2 separate regions of the Homo sapiens genome follow, and region 2 is linked to region 1. Evidence: promoter capture Hi-C in 16 types of primary human blood cells and fetal thymus (Javierre and others, 2016). All regions are on one chromosome and are shown on one strand. Each heading gives the region's core, a stretch centred on a gene start or on the middle of the fragment in contact. The rest is flanking DNA. Distances are from core to core; before and after follow the strand shown. Region 1 holds the start of STARD8 (StAR related lipid transfer domain containing 8). Region 2 overlaps YIPF6 (Yip1 domain family member 6).

Region 1 (6,842 bases), core at 2,606-5,105:
CCGCGGTCCCGTTTAGTAGGTCTGACTTCCTTTCTCATTCCATATAGTTTTCTCTCTGGTCCCCCAATGGTCACAGATGTGCTCTGCTCAATATCTGGCACAGGAATGGACACAGTGTCTCTGGGAGGGAGGCCATTCTTCCTTCCTCATGGGCCTCAGCCATAATGGGCCTGTCTTCTCCTTCACCTGGGTTCCTTGGCAAAGACCAGTGACTTGGGCCTTAAACAAGACACCCTCTTGTGGGCAGTGCCAGTTCCCAGGTGGAGAAATCAAGCAGCTGATCAGGCGAGGCTTGATGTGCTAGCCTCCCTGCTTGCCTGTGCACAGTTGCCCAGCCCCTCTGGGTTCCAGCTACGCTGAATGATACACTCTCCATATCCGCCACCCAAAGAAAGCAGATTTCATTACTGCTATGCCAGTTGTGTCAGGCCTTGAGTGTGAGGCAAGGGAGAACCTGCCTGATTCAGATCCCCCATGGGGTATATGGGGAAGAGGGATATGAGGAGGGAGGACTTGTGTTAACTGAGAGAACCCACTTCACATCAGGTCCTGCATGTTCCTTCTTCCTTTTTTTTTTTTTTGTTTCTTTTTTCTTTTTTTTTTTAGACATTTGAGACGGAGTTTCGCTCTTGTCGTCCAGGCTGTAGTGCAATGGCGTGATCTCGGCTCACTGCAACCTCCGCCTCCTGGGTTCAAGCGATTCTCCTGCCTCAGCCTCCTGAGTAGCTGGGATTACAGGCATCCACCACCATGCCCAGCTAATTTTTTGTATTTTTAGTAGAGACAGGGTTTCACCATATTAATCAGGCTGGTCTCGAACTCCTGACCTCAGGTGATCTGCCCATCTCGGCCTCCCAAAGTGCTGGGATTATAGGCGTGAGCCACCGCGCCGGGCCTGTTCCTTCTTTCTTAATGACAAACCTGGGAGGTGAGTAGAGATCTTTATCCTTATTCTCCTATTATAGCCATGGAAACCAAAGGTCCCAGAGGTAATGTGACTTGTCTAAGGTGGTTATGCAACCAAAAAAGTAGCTGGGCTTGGATCTAAAGTCATATCTAATAATGTCAAATCAATGCTCCTTCTGCTTTACCAGAAGCAGGGAGAGCCAGGAGCGTTCAGGACAAGACGAGAGAGGAAGGGAGCTAACATTTATTGAACATTTACTATGTGCCAAGCATATGTTATCTCATTAACTCCTAACAGCAGTCCCCTTATGTAAGCAGTGACTCTCAGTTTACAGATGAGGAAACAGGCTTAGGGAAGGGAAGTGGCTTTTGTAAGGGTACACTGTTAGGAGGTAGCAGAACCAGGATTCAAATCTAAGTCTGTCTGGCTCCAAAGCCTCTGCTTCTTCAATAATACCAAATGAGATTTATTTTTATTTGTTAATTGTTTATTTATGATGAGACACCATTTCTTAACCCACATATTCATATTTCATAGTTCAGGAACACAGGTCTGTGACCAACTTCTATGTAATTCAACCCAAAGAAATTCTTTATATTCCAAAATCACTTTGTACTCTGAAATGTACCAACCTTCCTCATCTCCTCAAAATCTTTTATGGAATCATAATTTCTGTAAAAATCTGCACATGCCTTCTTCCTTGGTTTGGTCAGAGCAAACATAGAGAGCTGCAACCCTCAGGGAAGCAACAAATGCTCCAATAATATGAAACCCATGTGTCTGAGGTTTCATCAAAGCACTGGAAGCCATGGTAGTTATTATCCTTGATAGGTATGTCAACCTCAACACCAATATCCTTCCTGGCTGATGGAGAATGAGCCACAAATAACATATATTGAGAACGTACTTTATGCCAGACACTATACTACATGCTTTAATTCATTCTGTTTAAACCTCCCAAAGGAAGTAGGTACTATTATTATTCCCCATTTTACGGATGGGCACACTAAGGCAGTAACAGGCCCAAGGTCACCAGTTAAAGAGTAACAGAACTAGTATTGAATCCAGGCAGTCAACTTCCGAGTTCATGGCTTAAAACCACCTCAAGACAAAACTGGTGTGAGAGACCCAGAATTGAAACTGAAGTCTCCTGGTTTCTTAGCTTAATGTGGTGTGCTGCGCACTAATGCCTCCTGAATGAATGCCCAAAGGCACGGCTGACACATCTCCTCCCAGGGGCTGGAATGGAAAGAAGGAGGTGAACTCCAGAGAGTGAAAGACTATGAGGCCATCCTAGGAGGGCAGGCAGCTTTTCCTGTAATAGTTGCTTCCCAGTTCTCCATCCTCAGGTCTCTGGCTGCAGGGCAGGAGGGCATATGCTCAAAGGAGAAAACTCTCTCTGGGCTCTGACTCCTCGTGTTATTCCTCCCCCACATGCAGAGGGCTTCCCCTTATAAGCCTGTGCTCAGCTGGACGTGGGTTGGAAGCCACTTACCTTGGCTCTTGCTGACCATCTTCCCGACACAGCCCAACAGAACTCACATCTGAGACACCCCTGAGGTCGGAGCTAGAGAGAGGGTGAGGTCAGTGATTGCAGCCTCCTTGGTACAAACGAGGAAACTGAGGGTCACAGAGTAAGTTGTAAACAGAGCTGGGGGGACCCTCACAGAGCCTCTGGACAAACCTCCGGACAAAGCCACTGATGAAGAAAGTCCCCGAAGGCAGGTAGAGGCTTGCTTAAAGCAACCTAGGACCTTCCAGGGTCCCAGGACCTGGCTGTTTGCCTGACTAGCTTGGGTCTCTGAAACAGAAGTGAGGCCAGGGAGAGTTAGTTATTCTGGGCCTCATGATGACATGTGCCTCCAGAGACCCAAGCCTGGCCTTTTGCCATGGGGTCCCTGGGAGCCTTCTGGCTACCAGCCATGGCACCCTGCCTTCTGATGTCTGGGGAGGGGCTGAGAGAGGGGGAGGGTCACTGCTTCTTAATGGCTTTCTGCCCAGAAAGCCTCTAGAACTGCCTGCTGCTGACTTTCTTTCCTTTCAGGGCATCCAGAGGGTTCAAGTTTAGATTTCAGGCTAAACTTCTGGGCTTAGAGGGTCCTGAGCATGGGACTGGATAAAGGAGGGAAGCCATCATCTCTTCAGAAGATGTTCAGAAAAGGGCATACACCCAGTCTATCTGAGCTGGGAGAGAGCTGCTGTTATGCCCTGGGGCAGGGGGATGGATGAAATGGCATTTGAGGGCTCAGATTCTCTTTGGGGCAAGACCTGACTTCCTATGGACTCCCAGGAGCAGCAGGGGAGTTCTGAGAGGAACTGTGATTGTCCAGAGTGGAGTTTCTTTGAGACTTGCCCTGTACCTAACCCCAAACAGATTTGATACTTAGAGACCTCTAACCCGGCATCTCATTGTACAGCTGGGAAAACTGAGACCCAGGAGGAAGGGGCCTCTCCGAGATGCCACAGTGAGTCAAGAGTCCTCACTTCAGAGGGCTGGAGAATAATCTACTGAGGCAGGGCCAGGGCACCTGTCTGAGAGGGGCTTCTAAGGCTGCAAGCTTTTCCCCTTCCGTGGACTGCATTCACACCTTGTTCGGTCCTGCTGGGGCCGGGGCTCTCCTTCCTTGCCCCTTTTCCTTGGCACTCTTTCCACAGGCCCTGTGTGGTCTGGGCTCTACCGAGAGGTCCCCAAGGAGAGCTGGCGTGTCAGTCAGCCAAGAAGCAAGCAGGCAGGCAATGCCAGCATGCAGGTGGCGGGGCTGGCAGGGGAGCCGGCAGGAGGGCCGGACACCCGGAGCCGGGGAACTGTAATGTTCAGGGAATTTCAATTGGCATTGCTGTCCCGTTCCAGCCAACTGGCTAACGGTGCCGAGTTTGAATCAGTGACCCGCCTCCTGGTCCCTCCTCCTTAGCCGGCCTCTCTCCCTCCCTCCTTTTTTCCCTCCCTCGGTGGCCTTCCAGGAGGCGGGAGGCGCCCGCTGTCGAGGCAGCTGAGCCCCGGCAACCGCTGCTCTCCGCCTCTCCCCTCGCGGGGCCGGCTCATGGAGCGCAGGGACCGGGCTGGCTCTCGCCGAGCCCCGGGCCTCTTTTAGCCTCGTCCCCAGAGAGGGAGGAGCCGGTGCCCGGCACAGCCCCGCCGGCCCTAGAAGCTCCCCACGCGCCACCATGCCTCTGCTGGACGTTTTCTGGTCTTGCTTCAGGAAGGTGAAGGTAAGTGACTGGCCAGCCCCAGCCCATCCCGCTGCTCAGGGGGGAAGGAGGCAGATGTGGACCACTGCGCACCAGCTGGGAAAACGGACCAGACGGGCTTCTGAGACTACCTGAGGCTCTCGGAGTTAGAAAGGCTTGGGTTCAAGTCTCACCTTTGTCACTTAACCAGTTCTGTGACCTTCTGTTGCATTCCCATACAAACAAGTCTGCTAGTTGGCTCTTTTTAATAAAACTCGCCTCTGTTGCTTCCTGGATCTTGCCACAAAGGCAAGATACTTAACCTCTCTGAACCTCAGTTTCCTCTCAGCTTTAGAATGAGGACCATAGTAACACCAACCTTACGGGGTGATGAGGTTGGTGTTATTGTTTACATAGCAAATGTATGCAAATCCAGGAGATAATGTGTGTAAGCTTCCTAGCAGGATGCCTGGTGTGGAGCATCCACACAAACAATGGTATCTATTATTATTATTATTATTAATTTCTATCCATATATATAAAAGCACATACTCTGTGCTAGGCACCACTGGAGCTACACAAAGACAAAAAAGGGCTGGACACAGTGGCTCACGTCTGTAATCCCAGCATTCTGGGAGGCCGAGGTGGGAGGATCACTTGAGGCCAGGGGTTCAAGACCAGCTTAGGCAACATAAGGAGACCCCCATCTCCATTTTTTAAAAGAAGACAAAGAAGGACATGGCTTTTGTCCTCAAAGAGAATATAAGAAAAGTGACAAATATTTACCAGGCACCTACTATATGCCAGACATTGTGCTAAATAGTCAGTTTGTCAGTAAATATTTGTTGAGTGTCTACTATATCCTGGCCATGGGGGATACATGAGCACAGCCGAACCCACAAGTGTGTGTAAAGCATGATTCCACTCTCAAGAACCAAGAAACTAATATTTATTTAGTATCCACTATGTACCAGACCTAGGCACTTTTAATTCATTCATGTGGCAGTGATCCTCAGCACAACCCATTGTTTTCCTGCTTTTATAGATAGGGAAAAGACACTGTGAATAGTTAAGAAATATTTACAAGGTTGCTCAGATATGACTGGCAGAGCTGGGATCTGAGCTCCTAAGTCCATGCCTTTCTTGACGCTGTGTGGTTTCCCACAGTCCAACCCAGTAGGAAGACTTTCAAACGACTAGCCTGACTGTAAGACAGGATGAAAGAATGCTGGGACCTTTGGGAAGGAAAGATCCATTCCACCGGGAGGGACTTGGAGAGGTTTCACAGGAGGTCACATTTGGGCTGAGCCTGAGGCTTAAAGGAAGAGAAGAGTTTGTCAGTCCAAAAGTGGGGGAAGGGCATTCCAGGCATGCCTGGCAGAGGGAACTTCGTGAGCTAGAGTTTGGAGGCAGTCAAATGGTAGTGGGCTGGGGGAAAGGCTTCTTTCGTGATGTGGCTCAAATGTAGGGTTAGAGAGGATAGGAGCTTGAGAAAGGGAAGCAGAGACTACTTCCCAAAGGGTTTGGAATTAATCTGTGGATTCATGGTCCTCATCTAGTAGGGGTCCTGAATGAGATTTTTCAACCATCTGTGGTGGAATGAGAGAAAAGTAGGGATAATGTCGTGCAGTGTTCATAAAACTAAATTAATTCAACTCAAAGGACTATTCTTTATTTGGAGACTGTTGTGTCCTTCCTGTGGGGGTGGGGATTCAAATGATCTTTCTCCTACAAAATATGAGTGAGAAATTTTTTAAATGTCTGCCCTCAGCAAAATTACAAAGTTTGCGACATGCTGATTGTTTCCCTATTTATTTATTTAAGAACACTTTCCTCATCCATGAAATCTGAAAGTCTGGTGACTACTGTTTTGGGGAATAAGGGGCTGATTTCAGCATAATAGGGATATAATTAAGTGGACGGTTTTAGAAAAAGCACTCCAGCAGTAGTGGGCAGGGATGGTGTGGAAGGGCCCAAGTGGAGATGCAGAGGCCAGGAAGGAGGCAGCTGCAGTGGAAATAAGGATGGGAGAGGAAGAAATGATAGAGAGCTGGATGGAATGATAATGACGAGGGAAGGGAAAATTAAAGTGCCTTTGAGGTTTGACGCCCGAGAGGCACCTCTGTCCCCTACCCCAGTTAACTGTTCTAGGTGCTTGGCATGGATTTAAATCTCTTTGCACTCATTACCCCAACTTCTCAGATGCCCAGAAAACATGTCCTAACCCCTGTCAGCCTCTTGGAAACTGTTGGGCTAGGTTAAGAGCAGTGGCTCATGCCTATAATTCTAGCATTTTGGGAGGCCAATGCGAGAGGATTGATTGAGGCCAGGAGTTCCAGACCAGCCTGGGCAATAATGAGACCCTTTATGAAAAATAAAAAAAATTTGCTGGGCACGGTGATGCATAATGGACACCTATAGTCCCAGTTACTTAGGAGACTGAATTGGGAGGATTGCTTGAGCCCAGGAGTTCAAGGCTGCAGTGTGCTATGATTGCACCACTACACTCCAGCCTGGACTACAGAGCAAGATCCTATAGAAGAAGAAGAAGGAGGAGGAGGAGGAGGAGGAAGAGGAGGAGGGGAGGAGGAGGAGGGGAGGAGGAGGAGGAGGAGGAGGAGGAGGAGGAATAGTAATTATAGGTATGGTGTCACGCCTGTAATCCCAGCACTTTGGGATGCCGAGGCAGGTGGATCACTTGAGTCCAGGAAATCAAGACCAGCCTGGGCAGCATAGTAAGACTGTGTCTCTAGAAAAAAAAATTTAA
Region 2 (6,842 bases), core at 1-2,500, 120 kb before region 1:
TCAGCGTCCCAAGTAGCTGGGATCCTCCTGCCCCAGCATCCCGAGTAGCTGGGACTACAGGCATGTGCTACTATGCCTGGCTAATTAAAAAAATTTTTTTTTTTGTAGAGATGGGGTCCCACTGTATTGCCTAGGCTGGTTTTGAACTCCTGGGTTCAAGTGATCCTCCCACCTTGGCCTCCCAAAATGCTGGGATTACAGGCATGAGCCACCATACCTGGCCTCATATTTTGTTTTAAAGAAAAATCAAACTAAATAAGGGCCAAAGAGAAGTGTTCTTAAAACCACTACCACTGTACAGAGATAACCTTGTTAAGTTAAATTATCTTAAATTATCAGAGGTCCTTTGATAAGCTTCAGATGCCCTTTCCAGGCCCTGAAATCATAGGCAGACTTTTTTGTGTAAGAAGAGTATGTACGTTTTGGGGGGCAAGTGGTCCCTAGCTTTTAACAAATTCTCAAGTATAATAGGTCTATAAACTAGAAAGGATTAAGAACCACTACCTTAGAGGTTCAGAGAAAGATATCTGTAGGAACTAGAGCAGATCATCTGGTGTTAGATGATTGACTTTTAAGGAATTTGAGAGGAGAGGAGGAAGAGTATGGGGAAAGAAAATTAAAGCATGTACTTAATTTTTTTTTTTTTTGAGATGGAGTCTCGCTCTGTCCAGGCTGGAGTGCAGTGGCACAAGCTCAGCTCACTGCAACCTCCACCTCCCAGGTTCAAGCGATTTTCCTGCCTCAGCCTCCTGAGTAGCTGGGATTACAGGTGCCTGCCACAATGCCCGGCTAATTTTTTTTTGTATTTTTAGTAGAGACGGGGTTTCACCATGTTGGCCAGGCTGGTCTTGAACTTCTGACCTCAGGTGATCCACCCCCCCACCCTTGGCCTCCCAAAGTGTTGGTATTACAGGCGTGAGCCATCGCGCCCAGCCAAAAGCATGTACTTAATAATTAATGTTAGGATGTAGATGTTATGTACCAAGAAGGAGGCAACATTCCGTTACATAGAGAAATCTATGTAATAAGCTGTGTCATAACACCCATCAGTTGTATTTATGATCTTTATTAATGTATTTTGTTTTTAAGATCTTTTTTTCAGAGCCTCTGTGTGCTGGGTTACTGTATACTTCCCTTGACAGTAGCAATGCTGATTTGCCGGCTGGTACTTTTGGCTGATCCAGGACCTGTAAACTTCATGGTTCGGCTTTTTGTGGTGATTGTGATGTTTGCCTGGTCTATAGTTGGTAAGTATGTACTTATTTCCACAATAACAGAACAGACAAAAACATGATTTAATGATGAAGACCAGATGAGGAGCAGTATAAGTCCAAAGTTAGATGTGAGTGATATGATTCTTGATAGTATTATCCATAGAACCCTCTTCCCTGAGTAGGCAATGATGGGGCTTATCTGAGTTGGATATCTGGACTTATAAGATGTGGAGAGTCACATCTTTTTTCTTTCTTTAAAAAAAAAAAAAGGTTGGGAAAGTGGATTACACTACATTTAGCCTAGTCCTGGTATATACAAGGCATTAGGTGACTTGTGGAATGACTGGGATCTTTTCCTGATAAACTAATTAAAATAAAAATAATAACATTTACAGATTGCTTATCAAAGGCCAGGCACTGTTTAAGTGCTTTATATATATTATCCCATTTAAGCCTCACAGCAACTCTAATAGAGAAATACTGTTATTAGTCCCATCTTACAGATGAAGAACAGTTACAGAGAAGTTGAGCAGCTTGCCCTAGGTTGCATTACTTGTGAGTAAGAGAGTCAAATTGCAAACCAGGCAGTCATGAACCTTTAAGAACTATACTATACCACCTTCCAGTGTAGATTGTAAGTATCATTATATAGCACTTTTCTGCTTCAGTAGAACATTTTGCTAAAGACTAGGAAGGGCCTATAGCAATGATAATGAATGCTATGTGCTCATTGTTTTTATATTCCTAAAGTTCTCTTAAGATTCCAGCTTAAATTTAGAAGTGTTCACTAGCTTCTGCTTTAATGGATAGGCAGACTGCTTAATATTTTTAAGTGTAGTAACATCTCATTGCTCTGGAACATGGTTGAAAGCTAAGAAGTAATCCAACAAAGGTCTGAGAGAGCCAGAACTGATATTCCAAAGACTGTATATTAAGCTTGGGTGCTTTTCCCATGGGGAGAGCCCCTCATTCTCTCACTGAGAATCTCATAATTACCATAAATGTAATTATACTTACTTAGTTATCCAGTGTCCAGGCTCACAGGTGATCACGAAGTAGAATCATAGGAGAGAGAAACTTTAATTCAGCAAACATTAATCACAAACTATGCGTCAGGCATAATTTTAGGCATGGTCTTTGTCCTTGGAGTTCACAATCTAACAGAGCAGCCCGACGTGAAAACATTTAAAGGCAATAGGTGTTCTAAGTGGGAAATGGAGATTTATACACAGTACAGTGGGACAGACATGATTATTCAGGAAAGATTTCCCAGAGATGTGATGATGATGATGATTAGTATTTGAGACAGAGTCTCACTCTGTCACCCAGGCTGGAGTGCAGTGGCACTATCTCGGCTCACTGTAACCTCCACCTCCTGGATTCAAGCAGTTCTCCTGCCTCAGCCTCCCGAGTAGCTGGGATTACAGCTATGTGCCACCACATCCGATTAATGTTTGTGTTTTTAGTAGAGATGGGGTTTCACCATGTTGGCCAGGCTGGTCTCGAACTCCTGACCTCAGGTGATCCACCCGCCTTGGCCTCTCAAAGTGCTGGGATTACAGACATGAGCCACCGCACCTGGCTGATTATTTTCATTTATTTATTTATTTGGCTAAAAATATATATATATATATATGTTTTTATATTATTATTATACTTTAAGTTCTGGGATACATGTGCAGAACATGCAGGTTTGTTACATAGGTATACACATGCCATGGTGGTTTGCTGCACCCATCAACCCATCATCTACATTAGGTATTTCTCCTAATGCTATTCCTCCCCTAGCCCCCCCAGCCTCTGACAGGCCCCAGTGTGTGATGTACCCCTCCCTGTGTCCATGTGTTCTCATTGTTCAACCCCCACTTATGAGTGAGAACATGTGGTGTTTGGTTTTCTGTTCCTGTGGTAGTTTGCTGAGAATGATGGTTTTCAGCTTCATACAAAGGATATGAACTCAACCTTTTACGTGGCTGCATAGTATTCCATGGTGTATATGTGCCACATTTTCTTTATCCAGTCTATCATTGATGGGCATTTGGGTTGGTTCCAAGTCTTTGCTATTGTGAACAGTGCAGCAGTAAACATAGGTGTGCATGTGTCTTTATAGTATTACCCAGTAATGGGATTGATGGGTCAAATGGTATTTCTGGTTCTAGATCCTTGAAGAATCGCCACACTGTCTTCCACAATGCTTGAACTAATTTACACTCCCACCAACAGTGTAAAAATATTTCTATTTCTTCACATCCTCTCCAGCATCTGTTGTTTCCTGACTTTTTAATGATAGCCATTCTAACTGGCGTGAGATGGTATCTCATTGTGGTTTTGATTTGCATTTCTCTCATGAGCAGTGATGATGAGCTTTTATTCATATGTTTGTTGGCCGCATAAATGTCTTCTCTTGAGAAGTGTCTGTTCATATCCTTCGCCCACTTTTTGATGGGGTTGTCTTTTTCTTGTAAATTTGTTTAGGTTCTTTGTAGATTCTGGATATTAGCCCTTTGTCAGATGGATAGATTGCAAAAATTTTTTCCCATTCTGTAGGTTGCCTATTCACTCTGATGATAGTTTCTTTTGCTGTGCAGAAGCTCTTTAGTTTAATTAGATCCCATTTGTCAGTTTTGGCTTTTGTTGCTATTGCTTTTGGTGTTTTAGTCATGAAGTCTTTGCCTATGCCTATGTCCTAAATGGTACTATCTAGGTTTTCTTGTAGGGTTTTTATGGTTTTAGGTGTTACATTTAAGTCTTTAATCCATCTTGAGTTAATTTTTGTATAAGGTATAAGGAAAGGGTCCAGTTTCAGTTTTCTGCATATGGCTAGCCAGTTTTCCCAACACCATTTATTAACTAGGGAATCCTTTCCCCATTGCTGGTTTTTATCAGGCTTGTCAAAGATCAGATGATTTTGGATGGGAGGCATTATTTCTGAGGCCTCTGTTCTGTTCCATCGGTCTATATATCTGTTTTGGTACCAGTACTGTGCTGTTTTGGTTACCATAGCCTTGTAGTATAGTTGGAGGTCAGATAGAGTGATAACTCCAGCTTTGTTCTTTTTGTTTAGGATTGTCTTGGCTATATGGGCTCTTTTTTGGTTCCATATGAAATTTAAAGTAGTTTTTTCTACTTCTGTGAAGAAAGTCAATGGTAGCTTGACGGGGATAGCATTGAATCTGTAAATTACTTTGGGCAGTATGGCCATTTTCATGATATTGATTCTTCCTATCCATCAGCATGGAATGTTTTTCCATTTGTTTGTGTTCTCTCTTATGTCCTTGAGCAGTGGTTTGTAGTTCTCCTTGAAGAGGTCCTTCATATCCCTTGTAAGTTGGATTCCTAGGTATTTTATTCTCTTTGTAGCAATTGTGAATGGGAGTTCACTCATGATTTGGCTCTCTGTCTGTTATTGGTATATAGGAAGGCTTGTGATTTTTGCACATTGATTTTGTATCCTGAGACTTTGCTGAAGTTGCTTATCAGCTTAAGGAGATTATGGGCTGAGACGATGGGGTTTTCTAAATATACAATCATGTCATCTGCAAACAGAGACAATTTGACTTCCTGTCTTTCTATTTGAATACCCTTTATTTCTTTCTCTTGCCTGATTTCCCTGGCCAGACTTTATGTTGAATAGGAGTGGTAAGAGAGGGTATCCTTGTCTTGTGCTGGTTTTCAAGGGGAATGCTTCCAGCTTTTGCCCATTAAGTATGATATTGGCTATGGGTTTGTCATAAATAGCTCTTATTATTTTGAGATACGTTCCATCAATACCTAGTTTATTGAGAGTTTTTAGCATGAAGCGGTGTTGAATTTTATCAAAGGCCTTTTCTGCATCTGTTGAGATAATCATGTGGTTTTTGTCATTGGTTCTGTTTATGTGATGAATTACGTTTATTGATTTGCATATGTTGAACCAACCTTGCATCCCAGGGATGAAGCTGACTTGATCATGGTGGGTAAGCTTTTTGATATGCTGCTGGATTCAGTTTGCAAGTATTTTATTGAGGATTTTCACAGTGATGTTCATCAAGGATATTGGCCTGAAATTTTCTTTTTTTGTTGTGTCTTTGCCAGGTTTTGGTTTCAGGATGATGCTGGCCTCACGAAATGAGTTAGGGAGGAATCCCTCTTCTTCTATTGTTTGGAATAGTTTCAGACGGAATGGTACCAGCTCCTCTTGTACCTCTGGTAGAATTTAGCTGTGAATCTGGCTGGTCATGGGCTTTTTTTGATTGGTAGGCTATTAATTACTGCTTCAATTTCAGAACTTATTATTGGTCTATTCAGGGATTCGACGTCTTCCTGGTTTAGTCTTGGGAGGGATTATGTGTCCAGGAATTTATCAATTTCTTCTAGATGTTCTGGTTTATTTGCATAGAGGTATTTATAGTATTCTCTGATGGTAGTTTGTATTTCTGTGGGATCAGTGTTGATCTTCAATTTATCAGTTTTTATTGTGTCTATCTGATTCTTCTCTCTTTTCTTCTTTATTAGTCTGGCTAGCGGTCTATTTTGTTAATCTTTCCAAAAAAAACAGTTCCTGTATTCATTGATTTTTTGAAGGGTTTTTCTTGTCTCTATCTCCTTCAGTTCTGCTCTGATCTTAGTTATTTCTTATCTTCTGCCAGTTTTTGAATTTGTTTGCTCTTGCTTCTCTAGTTCTTTTAATTGTGATGTTAGGGTGTCAGTTTTAGATCTTTCCCGCTTTGTCCTGTGGGCATTTAGTGCTATAAATTTCCCTCTAAACACTGCTTTAGCTCTGTTGCAGAGATTCTGGTATGTTCCGTCTTTGTTCTTATTGGTTTCAAAAAACTTGTTTATTTCTGCCTTAATTTCGTTGTTTACCTAGTAGTCATTCAAGAGCAGGTCGTTCAGTTTCTGTGTAGCTGTGCGGTTTTGAGTGAGTTTCTTAATCCTGAGTTCTAATTTGATTGCACTGTGATCTGAGAGACTATGATTTCCATTCTTTTGCATTCTGTTGTTATGATTTCCATTCTTTTGCCTTTGTTGAGGAGTATTTTACTTCCAATTATGTGGTCAATTTTAGAATAAGTGTGATGTGGTGCTGAGAAAAATGTATATTCAGTTGATTTGGGGTAGATATCTTTTAGGTCCATTTGGTCCAGAGCTGAGTTCAAGTCCTGAATATCCTTGTTAATTTTCTGTCTCGTCTATCTGTCTAATATTGACAGTGGGGTGTTAAAGTCTCCCACTATTATTGTGTGGGAGTATAAGTCTCTTTGTAGGTCTTTAAGAATTTGTTTTATGAACCTGGGTGCTCCTGTATTGGGTGCATATATATTTAGGATAGTTAGCTCTTCTTGTTGCATTGATCCCTTTACCATTATGTAATGCCCTTCTTTGTCTTTTTTGATCTTTGTTGGTTTAAAGTCTGTTTTATCAGAGACTAGGATTGCAACCCCTACTTTTTTTGCTTTCCATTTGCTTGGTAAATATTCTTCCATCCCTTTATTTTGAGCTTATATGTGTCTTTGCACGTGATATGGGTCTCCTGAATACAGCACACTGATGGGTCTTGACTCTTTATCCAATTTGCCAGTCTGTGTCTTTTAATTGGGGCATTTAGCCCATTTGTATTTTAGGTTAATATTGTTATGTGTAAATTTG

The links. The method cuts DNA at HindIII sites, captures the fragments that hold promoters and counts their contacts. A CHiCAGO score of 5 or more calls a contact.
Region 2: a fragment that was not itself captured here is called in contact with the fragment with the promoter of STARD8 in region 1 in 1 of 17 cell types (M0 macrophages); the score reaches 5.5 in M0 macrophages.

The regions. Positions count from the first base shown.
Region 1 is chrX:68,643,811-68,650,652 of GRCh38, forward strand. STARD8 (StAR related lipid transfer domain containing 8) reads left to right here and starts at 3,856. Exons shown (of 15, transcript NM_001142503.3): 1 at 3,856-4,117. The coding sequence starts at 4,073. It also overlaps the pseudogene COX6CP12. The HindIII fragment of the contact is 1,063 bases long and covers 3,464-4,526 here.
Region 2 is chrX:68,521,671-68,528,512 of GRCh38, forward strand. YIPF6 (Yip1 domain family member 6) reads left to right here. Exons shown (of 7, transcript NM_173834.4): 6 at 1,090-1,247. Among named protein-coding and RNA genes, the nearest start is that of YIPF6, 26 kb to the left of the region's middle. The HindIII fragment of the contact is 1,796 bases long and covers 353-2,148 here.